Regions from separate parts of the Homo sapiens genome. Here all the other regions are linked to region 3. Evidence: promoter capture Hi-C in 16 types of primary human blood cells and fetal thymus (Javierre and others, 2016). All regions are on one chromosome and are shown on one strand. The core of a region is centred on a gene start or on the middle of the fragment in contact, and the rest is flanking DNA. Distances in the headings are between cores, read along the strand shown.

The links. Contacts are between HindIII fragments. The CHiCAGO score rates a contact against its expected background, and 5 or more counts as called.
Region 1: a fragment that was not itself captured here is called in contact with the fragment with the promoter of NKD1 in region 3 in 4 of 17 cell types (total CD4 T cells, naive B cells, non-activated CD4 T cells and 1 more); the score reaches 6.9 in total CD4 T cells.
Region 2: a fragment that was not itself captured here is called in contact with the fragment with the promoter of NKD1 in region 3 in 7 of 17 cell types (non-activated CD4 T cells, activated CD4 T cells, naive B cells and 4 more); the score reaches 12.7 in non-activated CD4 T cells.
Region 4: a contact is called between a fragment that was not itself captured here and the fragment with the promoter of NKD1 in region 3, in 5 of 17 cell types (total CD4 T cells, activated CD4 T cells, non-activated CD4 T cells and 2 more). The highest score is 9.5, in total CD4 T cells.
Region 5: a fragment that was not itself captured here is called in contact with the fragment with the promoter of NKD1 in region 3 in 1 of 17 cell types (non-activated CD4 T cells); the score reaches 5.7 in non-activated CD4 T cells.
Region 6: a contact is called between a fragment that was not itself captured here and the fragment with the promoter of NKD1 in region 3, in 6 of 17 cell types (naive CD4 T cells, non-activated CD4 T cells, total CD8 T cells and 3 more). The highest score is 6.6, in naive CD4 T cells.
Region 7: a fragment that was not itself captured here is called in contact with the fragment with the promoter of NKD1 in region 3 in 2 of 17 cell types (non-activated CD4 T cells and naive CD8 T cells); the score reaches 6.8 in non-activated CD4 T cells.

What each region holds. Positions count from the first base shown.
Region 1 is chr16:50,183,489-50,186,813 of GRCh38, forward strand. All of the region lies in intron 1 of TENT4B (terminal nucleotidyltransferase 4B), which reads left to right. Among named protein-coding and RNA genes, the nearest start is that of TENT4B, 32 kb to the left of the region's middle. RefSeq lists enhancers at 489-1,051, 1,052-1,613. The HindIII fragment of the contact is 4,375 bases long and covers 1-3,325 here.
Region 2 is chr16:50,204,580-50,207,873 of GRCh38, forward strand. All of the region lies in intron 1 of TENT4B (terminal nucleotidyltransferase 4B), which reads left to right. Among named protein-coding and RNA genes, the nearest start is that of TENT4B, 53 kb to the left of the region's middle. The HindIII fragment of the contact is 6,724 bases long and covers 1-3,294 here.
Region 3 is chr16:50,546,561-50,549,763 of GRCh38, forward strand. NKD1 (NKD inhibitor of Wnt signaling pathway 1) reads left to right here and starts at 1,836. Exons shown (of 10, transcript NM_033119.5): 1 at 1,836-2,018; 2 at 2,157-2,189; 3 at 2,862-2,995. The coding sequence starts at 1,994. RefSeq lists silencers at 1,479-1,928, 1,969-2,158. The HindIII fragment of the contact is 5,196 bases long and covers 1,429-3,203 here.
Region 4 is chr16:50,227,097-50,230,637 of GRCh38, forward strand. TENT4B (terminal nucleotidyltransferase 4B) reads left to right here. Exons shown (of 12, transcript NM_001365324.3): 11 at 743-907; 12 at 2,056-3,541. The coding sequence ends at 2,232. Among named protein-coding and RNA genes, the nearest start is that of ADCY7, 38 kb to the right of the region's middle. The HindIII fragment of the contact is 534 bases long and covers 1,974-2,507 here.
Region 5 is chr16:50,828,652-50,831,877 of GRCh38, forward strand. No RefSeq gene overlaps it. Among named protein-coding and RNA genes, the nearest start is that of LINC02128, 9.8 kb to the right of the region's middle. The HindIII fragment of the contact is 1,155 bases long and covers 869-2,023 here.
Region 6 is chr16:50,284,242-50,287,531 of GRCh38, forward strand. The region is part of intron 1 of ADCY7 (adenylate cyclase 7); the gene reads left to right. Among named protein-coding and RNA genes, the nearest start is that of MIR6771, 6.7 kb to the right of the region's middle. RefSeq lists an enhancer at 1-194. The HindIII fragment of the contact is 581 bases long and covers 1,317-1,897 here.
Region 7 is chr16:50,254,607-50,258,169 of GRCh38, forward strand. It overlaps a transcript of ADCY7 not described here. Among named protein-coding and RNA genes, the nearest start is that of ADCY7, 10 kb to the right of the region's middle. RefSeq lists an enhancer at 1-77. The HindIII fragment of the contact is 8,884 bases long and covers 1-3,563 here.

The sequences.
Region 1 (3,325 bases), core at 169-2,668, 360 kb before region 3:
TTTTTCTTGTTATACTTAGTCACTTAAAAACCCTTTTTTTTTTTTTTTTGGAATTCTTATTTTTACAGTACTTTGAATTCCTGTTTTATTAATCACCTTCTTATCTGAAAGTGAAGTAATAGTGTACTTGGCACCATTGAATTAGAAAATTGTGTGTCCTTGGCCAGAAGATCACATACACAGGAACTCGATAAGTTGAGAGATTTAGCCGTTTCAGAAATGGGCATTTGTGTCTTCCAGTGGAGAAGCATCTGCAAAAGAATTGGGCAGATTTGGCCAGGCGCGGTAGCTCATGCCTGTAATCCCAGCACTTTGGGAGGCCGAGGTGGGCAGATCACCTGAGGTCAGGAGTTTGAGACCAGCCTGGCCAACATGGTGAAACCCCGTCTCTACTAAAAATACAAAATTAGCCAGGCGTGGTGGCTAACCCATTTAAAGTGGGTGAATTATATCTTTTATGTTTTAATGTATTCCTAGAGTTGTGCAACCATCACCAGAATAAGTTGTAGAACATTTTCATCAACCCAAAAAGAAACTTTGTATTCATTAGTCGTTCCTCCTCATTTCTCCCCTAACCTCCCAGCACTAGGCAACCATCAGAATACTTTTTGTCTCCACGGATTTGACTGTTTTGGACATTTCATATTAATGGAATGCACAATACAGTAGTATAATACATTAATTTTGGAAGGCCAAAATTAATGGCTTTTGATGTCTGCCTTTTTTCACTTAGAATAATGTCTTCCAGGTCCATCTGTGTTATAGCATGTATCATTACTTTATCCTTTATGTGGCTGGGTAATATTCCATTGTATGGTTATACCATGTTTTGTTTATCTATTCATCAGTTGATGGACATTTAGGTTGTTTTCCATTGACTATTAAGAGTAATGCTGCCGGCCGGGCGCGGTGGCTCACGCCTGTAATCCCAGCACTTTGGGAGGCTGAGGCGGGTGGATACGAGGGTCAGGAGATCGAGACCATCCTGGCTAACACGGTGAAACCCCGTCTCTACTAAAAAACAAAAAATTAGCCGGGCGTGGTGGCGGGCGCCTATAGTCCCAGCTACGCAGGAGGCTGAGGCAGGAGAATGGCGTAAACCCGGGAGGCGGAGCTGGCAGTGAGCCGAGATGGCGCCACTGCACTCCAGCCTGGGCGACAGAGCGAGACTCCATCTCAAAAAGAAAAAAAAAAGAGAATAATGCTGCCATCATGCTTGAGGGTTTTTTTTTATTTTGTTTTGTTTTGTTTGTGGGGGGAGCGGAGGGCACAGTCTCACTCTGTTACGCAGGCTGGAGTGTAGTAGGCTTACTGCAGCCTCCTCCGCCCCCTGGTTCTAGTGATTCTTGTGCCTCAGGCTCCTGAGTATCATGCTGCAATTTTTGTGTGAGCATACATTTTTCATTTCTCTTGGGTCAATATCTAGGAGTATCCCCACTTTTGGTTCTGAGTGTTAATTGAGCCTGTTGTGTTCTCACATTCCCTGTACTTAGATGGAAATAGTGCTTTGCCTAAAAAGAAAATAAAAGACCTGATTGTGCAGGCGAGTGAGAAAGAGAGAGAGGCGCTAGGGTTATTTCCACCCTGATACTCTTTGGGTAGTCTTGGTATGACTAGCAAAGAAGCAAGCTCCAAGTTGTAGTTTGCTTCCAAGTTTCTGGCTTCTGTGGGAATTTCTGCATCTAAGTAATGACAATTTTCAGTTACTTGCAGTAAGTAAATTATCAACCAATCTTACTGTGTATTACTAGCCTAGTAGGAATTTACTTGTATATCGAGAGGAATGCTGCAGCTTTCACCTTACTTCTAATGGGGATTAATGCTTACTTAACTTGCAGTTTTGGAGGCAAGTACAAAGTACAGGACCAATTATGGTCATGAAGTGAGAGAGAAGTCTGGCTAGTGAATGGTGATTGGCAACTCCAGTTGACTGTTCATGGCATCTTAGATCTGTGAGGAGGGAGGAGGGAAGGAAAGTTCAAGCTGGTCTTTATGGTAAGTTCTGGAACATTTCCCTGTGTCAATGGGTCATCTGTTCATTCACTGTGTAAAATGGTTGAGGGAAGTTTTAATTTACATGCTTCCTTATTGTGTAAACCTTTGATTTTTAGTGATTTCAGAGTTTGTTTTTATAATTACTTAACACGTGAAGAGGATGCAGAGTAACGTATCGAAGCTCTGGTTACCTTCCACTGGGATTTGACACATTTGATTTCCTTTATTCCCTCCTTCCTTCCCTTCCTCCCTCTCTCTTTTCTTAAGGAATGCAACTACTCAGATTCACCTGCACACCCTTGGCATACCTCTCACTCCCCCTTACCCCCACTTCCTCAGAGGTGACCTGTCCTCAGAGGCAAATGTGTGCCCTTTCCATCCGTACTTTTATGCTCTCATCTATGTTTACATCTATTAGTACACTATTGTCTGTATTTTTAAACATTACATAAATGGTGTAATTTTTACTTTTAATTCTGTAGTGGTGTTTCTCAAATTAAGTTCTGCACAAAACATTTTTATAGATATCCAGTGTTAGCTTAACGTTTTTCTTATTGTGGTAAAATATACATAAGATAAAATTTACCATTTTAGCCATTTTTAAGTTTACAAGTCAGTGGCATTAAGTACATTCACAGTGTTGTATAACCATCACCATTGTCCATTGCCAGAACTTTTCATCATCCTAAACAGAAACTCTGTACTCATTAAACAATAGTTTATCACTCCTTCCCTGCAACTAGATGCTGGCAATCACCATTCTACTTTCTATCTCTATCAATTTGCCTCTTCCATCTAAGTGGAATCCTACATATTTGTCGCTTTGTTTCTGGCTTTTTTTTCTTCTTGTGATGCTTTGTTTTAATTATGTTCCTGGCTTTCATCATCTAGCAGGCTGATTCCAAGGTTTGTCCATGTGGTAGCTTGTATCACTTTAATGTTTTTAGAGATAGTTAATATTACATTGTTTATATATACCACATTTTGTTTTTTCATTCAACCTTGATGGACATTTGAATTGTTTCCCCCTTTACCTGTTGTGAATAATGCTGCCGTGAACATTGATAACCAAATATTTGTTTGAATCTCTGATTTCAGTTCTTTTGGTTCCATACCTAGGAGTGGAATTGCTGGATCATATGATAATTCTATGTTTAACTCTTTGAGGGATGGCCAGACTTTTCCACCATAGCTAAATCATTTTACCTTCCCACAAGCAAAGTTCAAGGGCTCCAGTCTCTCCCCATAAGGTCCTTTGCACTTTTTTTTTTGAGACGGAATCTCACTCTGTTGCCCAGGCTGGAGAACAGTGGCACCATCTTGCCTGACC
Region 2 (3,294 bases), core at 153-2,652, 340 kb before region 3:
TCTGCAGTCTCCTGAAGATGTCACCCAGATTGCCCTGCCATCACCCCAGGGCCTTGAGTCACTCGCTTCTCTTGGTGTCTAGGCAGGCTTGAAGAAAATCAAACAGTACAAAATCATGCAAATTCAGACCTCTATTCCACCCCAGAGGAAAGTCCTGCTAGCAGTTTTTGTGTATTCTTCCAGAAATTTGCCTTGCAACGCGTTTGAGTATATAAATAATCCCAGAAAGGATGGGCCAGACACTAGCAGAAACTCACCACACACACTGCACTGGGCATGCAGAAACTTTGCAAAATGTACTGGTGTGTGCTGTCACTGCATTCCTGGGTTTGGAGGTCTTCTGTGTCCCCAGCTGTCAGTATTGCCCACAGGCTGACCACTGAGCTCCTTCCACAGCCGGCCCATATCACCCTCTTTCGAAGTGTGTCTGCAAGGCTAGATTATTAGAGTAATTTAAGTGTTTCTGCTTTGTGTTTTCTTTAATGAATTTTTTTATGATGAAGTTCTTGTTTTAAAAATATACAGTGGTAATTAACATGTATGCATTTTTCTTAAAATGACCCCCCCAGTCCCTCTTCGGATGTGATCACTGTTAACAGTATCGTATATAGACCCTGTTCTGTGTGGGGCGGGCAGAGGGCTGGTTAGTGGGTGGAACATGCATACTCACAACCATATTTTTCACATGGGAAAATATAAAGGTGACAACAAATCTCCTGGACTATAATCTCATCAAGCAGACAATAATCTCTGTTTCAAAAGTGGACAAATACATGCTGATTTTTTAAAAAAAATTATAATAGTACAGAAAGATACAAAAATAAGTTAAAGTCTTCCTAACTCTCCTGCCTGTGCCCTCCACTGGGCAAAAGTCCCTGTCCCTAAGGTAATATCTGTTAACAGTTCTCCTTCCAGAAAACTTGCAATGCAAATAGGAACATTTTGTGTGTCTGCCTCTGTGTGTATGTGTTTACATGTCTTTTTTTTTTTTTTTTTTTTTTTTTTTTTTTTTTTTTTTTTTTTTTTTTTGAGACAGAGTCTTGCTCTGTTATCCAGGCTGGAGTGCAGTGGCATGATCTCAGCTTGCTGTGATCTCTGCCTCCTGGGTTCAAGTGATTCTCATGCCTCAGCCTCCCGAGTAGCTGGAATTACAGGCGCCTGCCACCACACCCAGCTAATTTTTGTATTTTTAGTAGAGATGGGGTTTCGCCATGTTGGCCAGGCTGGTCTGAAACTCCTGACATCAAGTGATCTACCCGCCTCAGCCTCCCAAAGTGCTGGGATTACAGGTGTGAGCCACTGCTTCTGCCCCTGCACATGTCTAACGCACACAAAAGAGATTCTGCTGAACACATTTTTTATGCTTTTTCTTTCCAATTTAACATATTTGACATCTTTATCAGCTTATATAGCTTTATTTTTTTAAGAGGTTATTGGCTATAAAGGGAAAGTGCTTTATGGGTGCTTCTGTTGTTATTTAATTGGATCCTGTTGATGGACATTGATATCATTTCTAAATTTTTTAGTATCCTAATTAATCCTGTGGTGAGCATCCTTATACAGATATCCTTGTTCCCTCATGAAAATATTTCTGGAGGATGGAAAGAAGGGAAATTTTAAAAATTATTTGTGTAAACATTATCGTTTGTTAGTAGAATGACCTCAGGAGAGATTGTAGTAATTTATACTTCCCCACATGCATATGAATGCCTTTTCAATATATTGTTTCAAAATTGGATATCATGAACCTTAAGAGATAAATATATATGTATGTATTTTTTTTTTTTTTTTTTTTTTGGTGGGGGCATGTCCTGTTATTGACAGTTTGTTTTGGTGGAGGGATGTCCTGTTATTGACAGTTATCGAATAGAACTTTGTCAGTTCCTTCATGTAAGGGATGAATTTGGTAATAAAACAGGTCTGACTTCAGTTATGGAACTGGGAAAGCTGGACCTTGATGTGGAGGTGGGCTCAGACATGCTGTGTCTGGGCAGGTATCTCTTGGGAAGCAGTGTCATCCCTGAACAGAAACATGGATGAGCCGCAGGGGACGGTGCTGAGCAGAGGGGCTGGCCGTGGGTCATCTGCCTCCCTTGGCCTAGAAGGCACAAGGGAGCTTTCCACCTTGCCTTTGGTTTTGAGAATGCAGAAGCTACTAAGCAACTCACAGTGTGCCCAGGGTGGTCCAGCTGAAGGATGCGAAATGGTTCTTCCTTTTCCAGCCAAAGATCTTGAACCTCCCACCCCATGACAAGCATTATAAAATTCACATAATTTTGATAGGCTGGATTCCTTTTCTGTAGCAGATCTTTCCTCAGAACAGAAGTTTGTTTTTTTTTTTTAACCTAAATTACCTGTGAGTTTTATTTTTTAAATATGGAATCTGTTTTTTGGACACCTCCTTGTCATATTAAATGTTCTGTTATTAATTTTGAGATTTTAATGTAAATTTTACCCCAGCAAATTAATTTTGTTTCTCTTGCTCTCTCTTTTTTTTTTTTTGGCATCCTTTCCCGTTGTATAGTGGTGCTCATTTTATCATACTGCTTTTATATGACTTTTCTTTTGTGAACAGGGATCTTGTTCACTTTTCCTTTTTTAAAAATTTTTTTATTTTTTTGAGACGGAGTCTTGCTCTGTTGCCCAGGCTGGAGAACAGAGGCACAATCTCAGCCCACTGCAAGTTTTGTCTTCCGGGCTCAAGCGATTCTCCCACCTTAGCCTCTTGAGTAGCTGGGATTACAGGCGTGCACCATCACGCCTGGCTAATTTTTTTGTATTTTTGTAGAGATGGGGTTTCACTATGTCATCCAGGCTGGTCTCGAACTCCTGGACTCAAGCGATCCACCCGCCTCAGCCTCACAAAATGCTAGGGTTACAGGCGTGAGCCACTGTGCCCGAGCCACTTTTCCTTTTAACATAAAAACATTGATATCCTAGAGAGGGCACTGTATTTTGGGTACATACAGGTTCAGATCACGGAAGAGTTGTATTCTATACTTTTTTTCATCATTCTTAGTTCAGTATGATGTATTTTATAATTTCATATGAGAAACTGTAACAATGGGCATGTGTCATCCAGCAATACCTACTCATAAATCATATTAAATTTTGATCCAAACATGGGAGAAACTGAAGTTTTCTCTGTGTACTTGGATGCTTTCAGAGGCATAAAATTATATTACCATGTGAAAGCAAGCCTACAAAATTCCTCAGGTGGTCCACTCTGCCACTCAAATGAGAGCCAGACTTACAGTGCACACTCTACAAACGGACTTCCAGCTCGTCAGGGTA
Region 3 (3,203 bases), core at 586-3,085:
TTAGTGTACCTGCTTATAACATTAGCCTTCGTTTCCACCAAAAAGGGTGTTAAAAAAGGAAGCTTGGAACATGAAAGTAAGACACTTGGATGAAGAGATTTATGACTCTGGGGGGCTGTGAATTCCTAATGTCCTTTTGAGACATGTAGATCTTCCAGAGCGATGCTGCCCAATGCAGTAGCCACTAGCCAAGTGCAAATGGTCACTTGCAATATGGCTAGTCTTTGAGATGTGTTTTAAGTGTAAAATACACACTGAATTTTAAAGACTTAGCGCAATACAAAGAATGTAAAATATCTCATTATATCTTGAAATTATACTATTTTGGATATATGGTGTTCCCTTGGTGTCTTTGGGGACTGGTTCCAGGATCCTAGAGGATACCCAAATCCCCAGATGTCAAGTCCGCTATATAAAATGTCCTGTAGTATTTGCATATAACCTACACACATCCTTCTGAATACTTTAAATCATCTCTAGATTCCTTGTAATTCCTAATACAATGTAAATGTTATGTAAATAGTTGTTATACTATATTAAAAAGTTTTTTATTCTTTATTTTTGCTGTATTATTCTTTTTGCATATTTTCAGTCCACAGATGGTTGATGCCACAGATGTGGAACCTGTGAATAAGGAGGGCTGACTGTATTGAGTTAAGCGAAATATATTATTAATATTTCATCTATTTCTTTTTACTTCTAAAAGATGTGGCGACAAGAAAATTTAAAATTACAAATGTGGCCCACATTATATTTCTATTGGGCAGTGCTGCTCTAGAGAGTCGGCAAAAAGGGCAGAATGGAGCCTCCATTATACAGATCACAAAACTGAGCACAGGTAATTCACTCCAAAGGTCGGGGCTGGTCTCACTCTGAGCTGCGGGTTTTCTTTTCCCACGCCAGAGCTGCCTGGTGCCAGGACGAGCGTAACACGGACCCACAGTGTCCCCAGAAGGGGGCAGGCGTTCTGAGAGCCACAAAGGTGGGGTGGAATCCCTTGATGTCGACCGCCACCATCCCCCTCCCCCCGCGCGACCTCCCCGCAGAGACCTCCCCAGACAAAACAAACAAACCCTTGGGTCTGGCGAACTGCAGCGGGGAGCGGAAACCAAGGAAGATCAAAGACTCAGCGGTTACCCCCTTCCGGGCCGCGCAGTTTGGCAGCGCGCCCCGACCCGGGCGGGCACCCACGGGCCCCCGGACGAGGAGATCCCAGAGACTGGCTGATAACGGGGCGCTTTGGACATTTGTCGCTGCCTGGAGAGGGCTGGGCTCACACTGGCCCGGGGTGCGCTGGGGGCTCCTCCTGGACTCCCCAAATAAGAAACTAGAGGAGTGCGGTGGTGGGGGGCGGGTCACGGGGCGGGTAATGAACACTTTCTGCAGAAGGTAGGTCGTGGGAAGACTGGGAAAAGGCAGCGCTGCCGAAGCTTGCACCTGAGCAGCTAAGGTCTCCGCTCCCGACCTCAGTTTCCCCACCTGTAAATTGGAGCCGCCGAGTCCCGCCCTGCCCGTTTAGAGAGAACGTGGAGCGGAGGGAAGTGACAGTACAGTTAGCGATGGCCGGGCTGTTCTGTCCCAATACGCCTCCTGGACAAGCCGCCCCGCCGGGTCGCCAGCCCTGGAGCTCGGCCCCCGGCCCCAGACCGCGGCAGGGAGCGCGGACTGTGTCCCGCCCCTCCCGTCAGCGCCCCGCCCTCGTCCCCGCCCTGCCCCGCCTCCGGCCCCGCCCCCGCCGCAACCAGCCTTGCCTTTGATGCGCCGCACCGGCCAATGGGCGCGCGGGGAGGCGCGGGCCGCGGCGGCGGGCTGGGGGCTCGGCGCTCCCGGGCGTCAGTCGGGCCGCGGCGACGGCGGCAGGAGCGCGTCCCGGCGCCGCCTCGGGCTCCGCTCGGCTCGGGGGCTGCTTCGGGAGGAGGAGAGCCAAGGGAGGCGCCAGGCCCGCGGGCCGGGCGCATGGCTTAGGGACGCTCCCGGCCGCCGCAGCCCCAGCATGGGGAAACTTCACTCCAAGCCGGGTCAGTGCCCCCGCCCGCGCGCTCGCCCCGGGCCCCGCCGCCGTCGCCGCCGCGGTCGCTAACTCTCTCCCTTCCTTTCTTTCCTTCTCCCGCCGCCGCGGCTGCCGCCGCCGCCGCCGCCTCGCGATGTGCCTGCAGCCGCCGTGTGCAAGCGCAGGGAGAGCCCGGAAGGTAGGGGCGCGCGGGGCGCAGACCTCGGGGATGGACGCGGGGGACACCGCGGCCGCGGCAGAACGGCCCAGCCCGCCAGGTCTTATGACCAGGGCCACCCCGAAGCCCCAGTTCCGGCCACCGGCCCCCCAAGCCCGCTCCCTGAGCAGCCTTCGCGCCCCCTCCTCTGTCCCTCCTACCCGCTCCCCGCGGTCCTGCGCTCCCACCGCTGACCCTCAACCCCTCCCCCTCCCGCGTCCCTGCCCTCGGCTCTCACGGCACCCTCTCTTCAGACCCCCAAGCGCCTCCCCGCAAGACCCTGCCCCCTCTTCCTGCCCCCCGGCCCTTCTTCCGATATCCTGGCTCCTGCACCTACTGCGGCCCCTCTCCTGACCCCCAGCCCTCTCCTCCGCAGTCCTGGCTGCCAGTGCTCCCTGGTCTGATCCTAAACCCGTCCTCCTGGGGTACTGCTCACCCCTCTTGCCCCCTTCTGGCTCCTCGCTCCTAGGGCTTCGCTGAACCCCCCTTTACTTACCCGCGTCCCTCTCTTGGCTCCTGCCCCAGCCCGCGAACCCCCTCCTGGCCCCCGTGCCGTGGTCCTTCGCCTCCCACCGCGCCTCCTTCTTCCCTCCGCGGGGGTAACTTTTGGCACCTGGAGCCAGACTCAGGGGCTTCATGTCGTCCCCGTCCCAGGTGACAGCTTCGCCGTGAGCGCTGCCTGGGCTCGGAAGGGCATCGAGGAGTGGATCGGGAGACAGCGCTGCCCGGGCGGTGTCTCGGGACCCCGACAGCTGCGGTTGGCGGGCACCATAGGCCGAAGCACCCGGGTATGATTCCCCACCCCTGCCCCACCTCCTGGCCTCCTTTCAGCCTCAGAGATGGGTCCCCAAACCCATGCACCCCAACTTTGAGCACTTTCCTGCACAGCTTCTGGGTCTGAAAATCTCTTCTCAGCTGCCCCCTGCCCCACCAACGCGACCCTCTGCCCGCATGCCTTGGAGAACCTCGAAGTGCCCAGCTGGAGGCAGAGGGCTG
Region 4 (3,541 bases), core at 991-3,490, 320 kb before region 3:
AAAAGTAATCTAAATATTGTATGTTGTTGATGATGACCATGTGTCAATATGGAATCATAAATCCTCCTGTGCAGAATCTCCCTGTGTGCTTTTTTGGTTCCTAGAGCAGTATGCTTTGGAGGACAGAAGCCAAGCTAGATGTCACAGACACAGGGAGATGGAGTGTTGGGGACTGAGAGAATGTGACTCTGACATGCTGGGTAGAGTGCCAGGGCCAGGGTGGAGACCTGCAGAGAGACGTAGCATTGTCATGGCCCATGCAGCCCAGAAATAGGTGGAGCTCAGCCCACTGTCGCGGGAAGTCCACCCCCACCCACACCAGTATGTTTGGTTAGAATGATCACTGATTTGTCATCACAGACTCTCAGAGATTGAACCCCTTAAACCCATCATCTTGTGTCTGGCTGAAGCCAGGGACTAGGACCTAGGTTCCTCACTCTTTACCATACTCTTTCATTTTCTATAAATAAAAAAACAAATAAACTTAGACCTCTGTGAGCTCCTTCAAGGTCAGATGTGGGCAGTGGATTTAACAATGAACAGAAGCTCTCTGATAAAATCAGTCATTTTAAATGTTTGGAGGAAAATTTAAACAAACAGTTAATTTTTTGTGTGCTTCTTTTAACTCCCAAATGTTTAAATTTAGTCCAGAGAGTACTTTAACCAAAATTGTTTTTCTTTCTGAATATTGAGTATCTAAATTACTAATATGTCACATTATAACTCACGTGACTTGTGTTAGGATTCCGATGCAACACCATGCAAAACCCCGAAACAGCTGCTTTGCCGTCCGTCCACTGGGAACCGAGTAGGGTCGCAAGATGTATCCTTGGAGTCCTCTCAGGCAGTTGGGAAAATGCAAAGCACCCAAACCACTAACACATCCAACAGCACCAACAAATCTCAGGTGTGTGGAACGTGGGTTTTTAATTGTTAGTATTTGATACAAAATATTTAGAATTTCCCACATGTAAATAATATGCAGCATGGGTTTGAAGAAAACGCTAGATTGAAGAACAAACTTATTTTATTCTAAGAGGTTCCAACACATGACAGTGCTTCTAGGAACAGGATGTCCTAAGGATCCTTGTGAGACACCATTGTAACATAAATCTCTTCAGGAATCTATTGACTGGTCCTTATAAGATGTTCCAGCCAAACTACCATATAAAAAGTGTCTCAGTTGTACATGAAATAAGCTGGCATGAAGGTTTTGTGAGGCCTCATGGCAGTGTGCATATCTGGGAATAATGTATCCTTTTCTAATATTTTAATGTTCAATACCTTGTTGCTGGTGTTGAAATGATCAGCTGGCTGTCAGGCGTGGTCAGTTGATTAACATTAGCTTGGACTTAAAAGGCCACAGAGATACTCTAGTTTAAGTTTTTTTGTTGCCTAGAATTGTCATTAACTGAGTAATGACTCAGAGTGAGGGGAGGAAGCCATTGATATGGGGCTCTGGCCTAAGGCTGGGTCACTCCTCACTATAGCTGGGAACCTGGGAATAGGCCTCTTGGCTGTAACCTTGTGTCTGATTTGACTCACTGAGTTCACTTTACCTACGCGGCCTTAGCCATGTATGCCAGACACAGACTTATCACAAAATACCAGTTCAAGTGACAGGGTTGACAGAAGGGACTGAGGTCACGAGAAAGCCACAGGCCATGAGTAGCAGGAAGGGAGTAGCCACCTGTGCTGACCCAAACCTACCAGTGTGCCTGTCATGCCCAAGAGCCTCTTCCCGCTCTGTCACTTATGATGTGGTGTTTGGGTTGGTAAGTTTCTTAAGAAAACCTTTGCATCCCACACACTGTTAAGAAGGCGGGCGAGTGGTCTATGCTTTTCATTATTTCCATTAAAATAAAGTAAGGGTTTTAGAGCTAAAAAGAACCCCTGTAACAGCTTTTTCTGCCCACTAGATAAGTCAGTGATCAGTAAGGTAACAATCTAGCCAGCATATTCCTAGTTTTGAAAGCTTCCCCAAATCCAGGTGTTTGAGAACACTCTGCTTTTCTGCAATACTGATGTCTTTGTGGTCGTTTTCTGTTTCTGCAGCATGGATCAGCAAGGCTCTTTCGTTCTTCCAGCAAAGGCTTCCAAGGTACAACTCAAACAAGCCATGGTTCCTTGATGACAAACAAACAACATCAAGGCAAATCCAATAATCAGTATTACCATGGCAAAAAGAGGAAACACAAGAGGGACGCGCCCCTCTCAGACCTCTGTAGATAGTCAGCGCTGCGCGGTGGACTGTCTTCTCTGTGCAATGATCTCATGCTCAGGACAGTTGCGCAGGGACTCCTGGGAGATATTCAGGAGCCTCACACTGTTCAGACGTTGACTTAGCAACTGCGTTTTTTCCCAGCTCGCCACAGAATGGATCATGAAGACTGACAACTGCAAAAAAAACAAAACAAAACAAAAAAAAAAGCAAGCAAAAAAGAGGGAAAAAAAAGGCTGCTTATTTGATAAGTCATATGCTACAACAGGGTCATTTTAAGATTTAAAGCTTGAATGTAAAATAAATATATTTCTCATTGGCTTTATGCAGAGTTATAGGGAATAGTATTCAGTGTTGGTAGGGTGATAGAAACAAAAAACAGTATCAGAGGATGAGGTGGGGAAGGAAAACAAAGGTATCTGATAGGAAGTCCAGATTCCAAAGGGGAAAGTGATCTGTGCATGTTTTTTTTTTAAATATTTTTGCATATATTTACCATTTTATTGTGTGTATATATAGAAGACCATATAGGAGATTGATATTTGTAATAGTGGATTTGTTAATAATACTTTTTACATAACATTACTGTTTAAATTGTAAACAGATTTTTTCTCAGGATTAGTTTGAAAAATAATCTAAATTGTCATCTTAACATCCATATATAGGGAAGTGATTAGTTCTATTACTCAATTTGTTTTTCTCAGCATTGAAATGACTTAATAGAACCCTTGTGTCCTGCTGCAAAAATTTTTCCTCTCTAAAGAAAAGGTTTATGGTGGCAAATGATGTTTATTTTATTTTGTAAAAAAAAAAAAATGTACTATGTACTTTTGTGTAAACACTGAAAAATCTCTGGTCATCTCCGAGAATTAACTTGCAACTGTTTTCTATAGTGCTGTCGTCTTGGGCAATGGGCAATTACATGACTTTGTGTTTGCTTCCTTTGCAGTCTTTTTTTTTTCCCCCCATTTCTTCCTAATAGGAAAAAAAAAAAAAAAAAGGTCACCCATGTCTGGTCTCATTCCTGTTGCAGTGAAACTTCGAGTTCCACAGACTTTGCATGCTGGCTTCTCTAACCCTGTGTGCTGCGTGTGCCTGTTTCTCATCTCTTATTCTTTTTAAAATTCATGCTTAACTACTGTGGGAGAATAACTGTAAACAGCTTTAATTAAATCATACTTATAAAAAACTATTTTCTTATATTCCACTCTATGCTTTTGGTATTGTTGATCTTTACAAATTAAATGGTCTTTGATAATGGATCTATTTTGTATTGCCTTATTAAGACCAAATACTTCTTGTCATCCCATTCTTTATCCT
Region 5 (3,226 bases), core at 196-2,695, 280 kb after region 3:
TTGCTCTGTCACCCAGGCTGGAGCACAGTGGTGTGATATCAGCTCACTGCAACCTCCACTTCCTGGGTTCAAGCAATTTTCCTGCCCCAGCCTCCTGAGTAGCTGGGATTACACGTGCGTGTCACCATGCCTGGCTAATTTTTGTATTTTTAGTAGAGACGGGTTTCACCACATTGGCCAGGCTGGTCTCAAACTCCTGACCTCGTGATCCACCCATCTCAGCCTCCCAAAGTGTTGGGACTACAGGCGTGAGCCACATTTTTCTAGTTCCCTAAGGTGGAGGCTGAAGTTATTAATTCGAGATCTTACTACTTTTCTAATGCCAGTACCATGGGGTCTATGGAGTCACATGGTCCAAGCTACAGAACTTGTAGCATAGCCTGGACCTGCTGCAGAGCCCTCTCTTGCTTTGAGCCTCACTTAAGACTAGCATGTTTCCTTACAAGTCATTGAATGGGCAAGAGCAGTATCCCCCAGTGTTGGAGTATGCGTCCTTCAATTCGGACTGGTCTACCAAGCACTGGGGATTTTTCCTTAGTGGTAGGAATTGCACAGTACAATAACTTTACTTTATTTTGGAGGGGATTGATATTATTTGCATGCATGTGCCCACCCAAATCTCATGTCAAATTGTAATCTCTAATGTTGGAGGTGGGGCCTGGTGGGAAGTGACTGGATTGTGGGGGCGTATTTCTCATGAGTGGTTTAGCACTATCCCCTTGGTGCTGTCCTCATGACAGTGAGTGAATTCTCTCGAGATATGATTGTTTAAAAGTCTGTGGCACCTTCTCTCTCTCTCTCTCTCTCTTCCTCCCTGCTCTGGCCATGTGACATGCTTGCTTCCCCTTCTGCTTCTGCCATGATTGTAAGCTTCCTGAGGCCTCCGCAGAAGCTGAGCAGATGTTAGCACCATGCTTCCTGTAAAGCCTGCAGAACCATGAGCCAATCATACCTCTTTTCTTTGTAAATTACTCAGGTTCAGCTATTTCTTTACAGCAATACAAGAATCACCTAATACAGGGATGCTCCACTGCTGCAGACCACTGGCCCCTAGAAACTTTGCTGATACATACCTGGGATTTCTTACTTCCCATCCTTTGGACAGCATGTATCTTACCCAGGCATCCCGATGACTTGTCTCTTCTTGCTCATCTGATCCAATTAACGTATCATACAGGGAAGTAATTTCAGCTCACTGCTGAAATTGATACAGGGAAGTAATTTCAGTTTCTTTGTGAAGTGTCCAGATTGCCTAGGTCACATTATGGACTACATTATGGCAGAAATCAGAATTACCATATTCCAGGGCAGGATTATCAATATATGCTATTATCCATTGGATGTAGATGCAAACAGCTTCTGATCCTCATTTGTGATGGGCACGTGTAGTGGGTTAAATGATGCACCTGCCCCCACCCCACCAAAGAAAAGATATGCCCACCTGGAACCTAGAACTGTGGACTTATTTGGAATAAAGGTCTTGGCAGATATAATTAAATAAAGGATCTCAAGATACGATCATCTTGGATTAGGGTAGGCCCTAAATCCAATGATAAATTTCCTTATAAGAGAAGAGAGAGGAATACATACAGGAGAGGACAGAGATTGGAGTGATGTGTCTACAAGCCAAGAAATGCCAAAGACAGCCGGCAGCCACCAGGAGAGGAAGGACTCTTCCCTAGAGCCTCCAGAGGCAGCCTACTGACCCCTTGACTTCAGACCACTGGCCTCTAGAACTGTGAGAGAATAAATTTCTGTTGTTTTAAGTCATTAAGTTTGTGGTAATTTGTTATGGCAGTCCCAGGAAACAAACAACAGTATTGGAAAGAACACGTTTGGCAGATCAGAAATAAATTGCAAACCACATAGCTGAGGTTGTGTTAGTCTGCTGTAGTAAACAGACCTCCTTTGGCATAGGAACTGCAATTCAGCCACCACTTCGTTGATCCTTTCGTCCATCATCTGCAGTGAGAGCTCTGGCATCTCAGCTTCATTTAATGAGGGCCAATGTGAGCTTTTTCCAAGCTTCTAAGAGCCATCCCAGCTATGTATTAGACCCATCCCTGGAAGCCTCGCCGGGGTGTTAAATTCCATGGCAAAGGAGAGGGCTCCCTTGTCAACAAATGTTCCTTTATTCAGTGATAAATTCTGTCCACCTTGACCCAGCATCCTCAGGATCCACTCCTGGGCATGCCCTCCCAGTCCTGCCAGGGCATGTCCACTAGTACCTGCAGAGTCTTTTACTTAGAAACTTTCCCATTCCTAAGCAGGCCTCACACAGTTGACTCATGCTGAGACTTGGCCCTACAGATTAGACTGGTGGCGGGGAGAGGAGGTGACAGCAGATACGGAGGAGGCCAGTGCTGCTTTATAAAAATCCTCATTTGGGGCTTCTTGGATAGTCTCCTAACAGGGTGGACAGGCCGCTTCTGCAGACCCAGAGGACCCAAAGTTCTCAAGTACATGTACTCAAATGCACTTACCCCAAGTTCCAGATTCCTGCAGCTTCTCCATCAGAGGTCTGACTTTGGTGTAGAAAACTTGCCTAGGCTTAGAATTAGAATTTAAATTTCCTTAAAGTTGCAACTCTTATCCTTAAGTCCTTTCCTCATATCCTTAAGGCCAGGGCCTGGGAGCCAGCTGTCTGCCTCCCCAGCTGTGGGAGATGAGAGTTTCTATAATGCTGGCAATGGGGCTCTCAGACCCTCATGTTTTGCTTCACATTGTGATTGATGGCCCTGAGTCTGTCTTTTCCTCTTCTTAAGGCATGATTGGCATTCACTGGTGGGCACCCAATTCTACAGTCTTTATAAGAACTCTTTTTCCCATACCTCTCAAACATCAAAGCTCTTGCACAGGGCAGTGCACCTTTTCCACCTGTATCCCATGCCCTGGGTGTATTACAGGTAGAATCTTAGCAACAATCACTGCCTGCCATTTACCACTGTACACTAAGCACCGGTGATGGGGCTATGATTTCTAGCCATCTAGGGACTTCAGAATCCTATCCTTCTCATCTATTTCCTAGGATCACTCCTGGTGCCAAATATATTAGCTTGGGTTCCCTAAAAGCAGAGCTTGAGAAAGGAATTCAAGGAGCACATGATTAATCAGGGGAGTTTTTCAGGAAAATCCTGTAAGGGAGGGAATTAGGCACAATAAGACAAGGGAGAGAGCAGAACAAGGAAGCAAACCTCAAGCAAAGCCCAGTCTTGGTCTGAGCCAT
Region 6 (3,290 bases), core at 357-2,856, 260 kb before region 3:
CTTGTTCCAGGAGCTGGCCAAGGTCCCTGGATGGGCTGAAGTCCTTGTGCCCATGTTGTCCACTGTCCACCTGCGCCTGCCTGCCGTTGCCCAGAAAGTGGCCTAATGAGTTCCTTGAGAGGCGTGTTTACCAGGCCTGTGTTCCCACGGGCCCTTGGGACTCTCTCAGCTGGTTCCTCCCTTTCCTCGTGGTGGCCCAGCCTGGCTTTGTGTGCCTGGAGCGGGTGTGTCCACACACTCTCACACTTGCACTTTCATGCACGTGTCTGGCCGCCTCAGCTCTGGTCTGGGGGCTTTGCCTGGGAGATGGAGCAGTTGTGGGGAGTGGCCTCAGCCCTCTGGTGTTTGGAGCTTCTCAGCCTGGCTGTCCTGGTGCACTGGTGTTTGGCAGCAGGCCAGGGGTCAGGTGGGTTTGCTGTTTGTGTGCTGTGGCATCTGGCTCAGTCCCCCGGGATGTCAGTGGGCAAGCCTGGGCTGAGGAGCCCTGGTTTGGGAGCTGGCAGACCTGGGTTTGCATCCCAGCCTATCTGTCCACCAGCTCCAGCAGTGTGATCTTAGGCAACCACTCTGCCTCTCTGGGCTCAGTTCTGCATCTGTGAGACGGTGGTGCCACCTTGGCCTTTGCCGGTTGTGAAGATGAGAGTGAATGTGTGTGCAGGTGCCGGGGGTGACAGGAACTGCTGCTGTTATTACTGCAAAGGGCTATTTTGGGGTGGGGGGTGCTGAATTGAATGTATCTCAGGCAGGGACCTTATCTTGTTTGGCAACCCCCACAGCACAGGGTTGGATGTATATGGTTAGCACACAGTAAATGCCTCTTGTGGAATACAGACTGATTAGTTTAGATTTAGAGGTTGTAAACTAGTGGGCTGCAAATATTGAAAAATTTGAAATCAGCTGCCAACATTTAAAAATCATCATTTCACGTAGAAATCAGATTTGTAGCCTGTCTGAGCACTTTGGGCACTTTGACAGCTCTTGGCCACATCCCTGAAGGGTTGCCCCTCGTTGAACAGGTGCCAAGGCCTGTAGACACCTGCCCAGGCACTGAAGGGGATGGGGCCCCCAGCAAATGACCCCTTCCTCCTTCCCCAAATATGTGGTTTTACCATTTTGTTCCTGGTGTGTGGTGATGGAATAGGAACTTCCAGAGGAAATAGAGCCTGAGGTGGCTCCTGGAATTGAGGTGGCCCCAGGGATCTCATACTAGCAGGTGCTGGTTGGGGACTTGGGGACCCTGGATATCCTGCTTTTTGCCTTTGGGGGCTGGGGGCTCACCTGGCCATCTTCCCTCCGCTGGACCAGCTGTCCTTTGAAGCTTCTGCTGGCGGCTGGCCATTTGTGCCCTGTGACTGCTCTGAGCTGTCCCGTGTCTCACAGCCTCCCTGCCCTCTGCCTCTGGCCCTGTCCTGGTTCCAATCTGAGGCAGGCCTGGAGGACACTGGGGGCGTGGACTCTTGGTCCAGGGTTGCCCCCTTCATGCAAGGTTCCTGCTGGGAATATGGCAGCTGTCCCCAAGTCCCCATTGCTGTGTGAGGGATTGCACAATTTTGGTAATTTTCCTACCTTTGGAGACTGATGGGGATCCCTGGGGAGAGAGAGCCCAGACTAGCACACAGGAGATATAAGGGCTGGCAGGCGTAGGTGTGATTCACAAGCCTTTTTGGAATCAATGAATATGCTAAGGAATGAATGGTGCTGGGGAAAGAAGGAACCCATATGGGCTGAGCATGGCAAGTGTGGGGTCAGCTCACAGTGTTGTCACAAAGGGGCCACTGTGTCCCTCTCTGAGACTCAGCTCCCTTTTCTGTGAAGCACGGCTTGCAGACATCTGAAATTTGTATCAGTGGGCTATTTAAAAAAATAAACAAGATTTTTGCTGGGTACAGTGCCTGAAAGCTTAACACTTCGGAGGCTGAGGAGGGTAGATTGCTTGAGCTTAGGAGTTCAAGACTAGCCTGGGCAACATGGCAAAACCCCATCTCTACAAAAAATACATGGCCTACTGCAGCCTAAGTCTCCCCAGGCTCAGGTAATTCTCCCACCTTAGCCTCCTGCATAGCTGAGGTCCCAGCTACGCAGGAGTCTGAGGTGGGAGGATTGCCTGAGCCCTGGGAGGTTGAGGCTGCAGCGGGCTATGATCACACCACTTCACTCCAGCCTGGGTGACAGAGTGAGACCCCATCTCAAAAAAAAAAAAAAAAAGAGAGAAAGAAAATGCAGTTTTATGTGGAGCTTACTGTAACACAGATGCAGGGGGCTACCCTGGCTGAAGCAGGCATGGGGGCCTGAGCCTATGCCCCCCCACCTTCCCTTCCCATTGGGGGCCTGATGCATGTCCCCAAATCTCAGGGCTCCTAGGATCACAGCTTGGAACCCTCTGTGCCTGGAGGCATGAGACTCACTGGAAAATGAAGTGAATGTGGTGATTGCACCAGGACCATGGGGACAGAGCAGAGCCTGGAAACAGACACCATCTGTGTGTGATCACCTGACTTATGACAGAGGTGGCTCCACTGAAATTCAGAGAGAGGATGGCCGGTTCACTGAACACTGCTGGGATAATTCAATATCCATATGGAAAAAAGAAGTGAACCTTGATCCCTACCTCACACCATACCCAGAGTGAATCGAAATGGATCAGAGACCTTTGTGTGAAAGCAAAACAGTGAAACATGCAGAGCAGAGCTGGCCTGTAGAAGCTTCTGTGATGATAGACATTCTCTGTTTATCTGTGCTGTCCAGTACAGCAGCTGCATGTAGCCATTGGGTATTTGATTTTTTTTTTTTTTTGAGATGGAGTCTCACTCTGTTGCCCAGGCTGGATGCAATGGCACGATCTCAGCTTACTGCAAAATTTGCCTCCCAGGTTCAAGCCATTCTCCTGCCTCAGCTTCCCGAGTAGCTGGGATTACAGGCACACGTCACCATGTCCGGCTAATTTTTGTATTTTTAGTGGAGGGGGGTTTTACCACGTGGGCCAGGCTGGTCTCGAACTCCTGACCTCAGGTGATCTGCCTGCCTCGACCTCTCAAAGTGCTGGGATTACAGGCATGAGCCACCATGCCTGGCTGGCTGTTGAGTATTTGAAATGTGGCTAGTGTGACTGAGGGACTGAATTTCTAATTTTATTTTAAATTAATTTAAATTTAATTTAAAATAGTGGCTGGGCATGGTGGCTCATGCCTGTTATCCCAGCACTTTGGGAGGCTGAGGCAGGAGGATTGCTTGAGCCCACGAGTTCAAAACCACCCTGGGCAGCAGGGGGAGACGCCCATCTCTACAAAAGA
Region 7 (3,563 bases), core at 564-3,063, 290 kb before region 3:
GAACCAAGAAATGGAACAAGATACAAATAGATGGGATTTTATCCATGTTCATGGATTGGAAGAATTAATATCGTGCAAATGTCCATACTACCCAAAGCTATTCAATGCAGCCTTTGTCAACATTCCAGTGACTTCTCACAGAAAAAGAAAAAACAGGGAACACACCTTTGGTTTATACCAAAAGCTGTGTCTCCCTGCCCCCCCACCCCCACCCCCTGCCAAAACAAAAGAAAAAACAATTCTAAAATTCAGGTGAAACCACAAAAGACCCCAAATAGCTAAAGTGATCTTGAGCAAGAAGATCAAAGCTGAAGGCATCACACTACCTAATTTCAAAATATATTACAAGCTACAGTAATTAAAATAGCATTGTACTGGCATAAAAATAGACACATTGGGCTAGGCATGGTGGCTCATGCCTGTAATTCTAGCATTTTGGGAGGCTGAGGTGGGAGGATTGCTTGAGGCCAGAAGTTTGAAGCTAGCCTGGGCAACATAGCAAGACCTTGTCTCTACAAAAAAAAAAAAAAAAAATTAAAAATTTGCCGAGTGTGGTGGCAGGAGCCTGTCGTCCCAGCTACTTGGGAGGCTGAGGTGGGAGGATTGCGTGAGCCTAGGAGCTTGAGGTTGCAGTGAGCTATGATTGTGCCACTGTACACCAGCCTAGGTGACAGAGTGAGCCAATTAAAATATATATATATATTTATAATTTCTTTTTTATAGAGATAGGGCCATCTAAAGTGCTGGGATTACAGGCATGAGCTACCATGCCTGGCCCATAAGACTCTGTTTCTGGAAAAAAAAAAAAAAAAAAAGACGTATCAACCAATGGAACAGGATAGAGAGCTCAGAAATGAACCCATGAATATATTTACAGCCCAATGATTTGTTTGTTTGTTTGTTGTTCAGATAGTGTCTCACTCTGTCACCTAGCCTGGAGTGCAGTGGTGGGATCTTGGCTCACTGCAAACTCTGCCTCCCATGCTCAAGCCATGCCCCTACTTCAGCCTCCTGAGTCACTGGGACAACAGGTGCATGCCACCTTTGGCTAATTTTTGTATTTTTTGTAGAGATGGGGTTTCAACATGCTGCCCAGGCTGGTCTCGAACTCCTGAGCTCAAGGGCTCTGCCTGCCTCGGCCTCCCAAAATGCTGGGATCACAGGCATGGGCCACTGTGCCTGCCCAGTCCATTGATTTTTTTGACAAAGATGCCAAGGACCCACTATGGGAAAAGGATAGCCTCTTCAATAAATGGTGTTGAGAAGACTGGGTTTTCACAGGCAGGAGGATGAAATTAGATCCTTACATATAAAAACCAACTCAAAATGGACTGAAGACTTAAACATAAGACCTGAAACTATAGAACTACTAGAAGAAAATATAGGGAAAAAGCTATGTGATACTGGTCTGGGCAATTATTATTATTATTTTTGACTCCAAAATCTCATGCAACAAAAGCAAAAATAGACAAATAGGATGATGTCAAACTTAAAAGCCTCTGCATGGCAAAGAAAACAGGTAACAGAAGAGACAACCGATAGACTGGGAGAAAATATTTGCAAGCCAAACATCTGAAAAGAAGTTAATATCCAAAATAGATAAGGAACTCAATAACAGCAACAACAACAACAAACCCAATTAAAAAATGGGCAAAGAACCTGAATAGGCATTTTTCAAAAGAACCCATGCAAATGACCAACAGGTATACAAAAAAATGTTCAACATTACTAATCATTAGGGAAATGCATATTAAAACCACAGTGAGGTATCATCTCACACCTGTTAGAATGGCTATTATTAAAAAGACAAGAGAAGCCAGGCGTGGTGGCTCACGCCTGTAATTCCAGCACTTTGGGAGGCTAAGGCAGGAGGATTGCTTGAGCCTGGGAGTTTGAGACCAGCCTGGGCAACATAGGGAGAACCCATCTCTACAAAAAATAAAAAAACAAGGCAGGTGTGGCAGCGTGCACCTGTAGTTCTACCTAGTCAGGAGGCTGAGGTGGGAGGATCACTTGAGCCCAGAATTCAGAGGCTGCAGTGAGCTATGATCACATCACTGCACTCCAGCTTGGGCAAGACCCTGTCTCCAAAAAAAAAGAGACAGGTGTTGGAGATAATGTGGAGAAAAGGAAACCCTTGAGCACTGTTGGTGGGAATGCAAATTAGCACAGCCATTATGGAAAATAGTAGGAACCTCCCTTCCTTCCGCTTGTGGGTACATATCCAAAGGATTTGAAAGCAGCATGTCAAAGAGATATCTGCACTCCCATAATCATTGCAGCATTATTCATAATAGCCAAGATCTAGAAACAAGTGTCCATTAATGGATGAAGAAAATGTGACATATATACACAATGAGATACTATTTAGCCTTAAGAAAGAAGGAACAACATGGGTGAACCTAATGGACATTACACTAAGTAAAATAAGCTAGGCACAGAAGGACAAATACTGCACGATCTCACTTATGTGTGGAATCCAAGAAATCTAGGCTGTGTGCGGTGGCTCATGCCTGTCATCTCAGCTCTTTGGGAGGCTAAGGTGGGAGAATTGCTTGAGGCTAGGAGTTCAAAACGCATGGGCAACATAGCACCCCACCTGTACAAAACAAAACAAATGCAAAAGACCACCACCAACAAAAAAATCCAATTGAACTCAGAAGCAGCAAGTGGAAGGGTGGTTACCAGAGGCTGTGTGTAGGTAAGGGGGGCAGGGGTGGGATGGGGAGAGATAGAGAGAGGTCAGTCAAAGGATACAAAGTTTCAGTGGAGGAATAAGTTTTTTGAGACCTATTGCACAGCATGGTGACTATAGTTAATGTACATTTCAAAATTACTAAGAGGGTAATTTCAAATGTTTTCACCACAAACAGTGCTAAATACTTGAGGTGATATGTTAATTAGCTTCATTTCATCATTCTCCATTGTATATATGTAACGTCACCTTGTATCCCATAAATATATACAATTATAACTGATCAATTTACAATAAAATTAAAAAAACAAACATTTTACCACACATATTGCTAAACATTAGCAGTAATTCTTTAAGATCGTAACTATCCATTCGGTGTTCAAACTTCCAATTGTTTTGTAAATGTCATATATATATATATTTATATTTTATATATTAGATTTATCTTTTTTTTTCTTTTTTTGAGACAGGGTGTCTGTTGCCCAGGCTAGAGTGCAGTGATGCGATTTCGGTCCACTGCAACCTCTACCTCCCAGGCTCAGGTGATCCTCCCACCTCAGCCTCCCTAATAGCTGGGACCACAGGCATGCACCACCACACCAGGCTAATTTTTTTGTATTTTTTGTAGAGACAGGATTTCACCACGTTGCCCAGGCTGGTCTCGAACTTCTGGACTCAAGTGATACGCTTGCCTCGGCCTCCCAAGGTGCTGGGATTAGGGACGTGAGCCACCGTGCCTGGCCTATATGTTAATATTAGCTTTTTAAAATCAGGATCCAGAGCCAGGCATGGTGGCATGCACTTGTAATGTAACCTCCAAGCTACTCGAGAGGCTGAGGCAGGAGGATTACTTGAGGTTGGGAGCTGG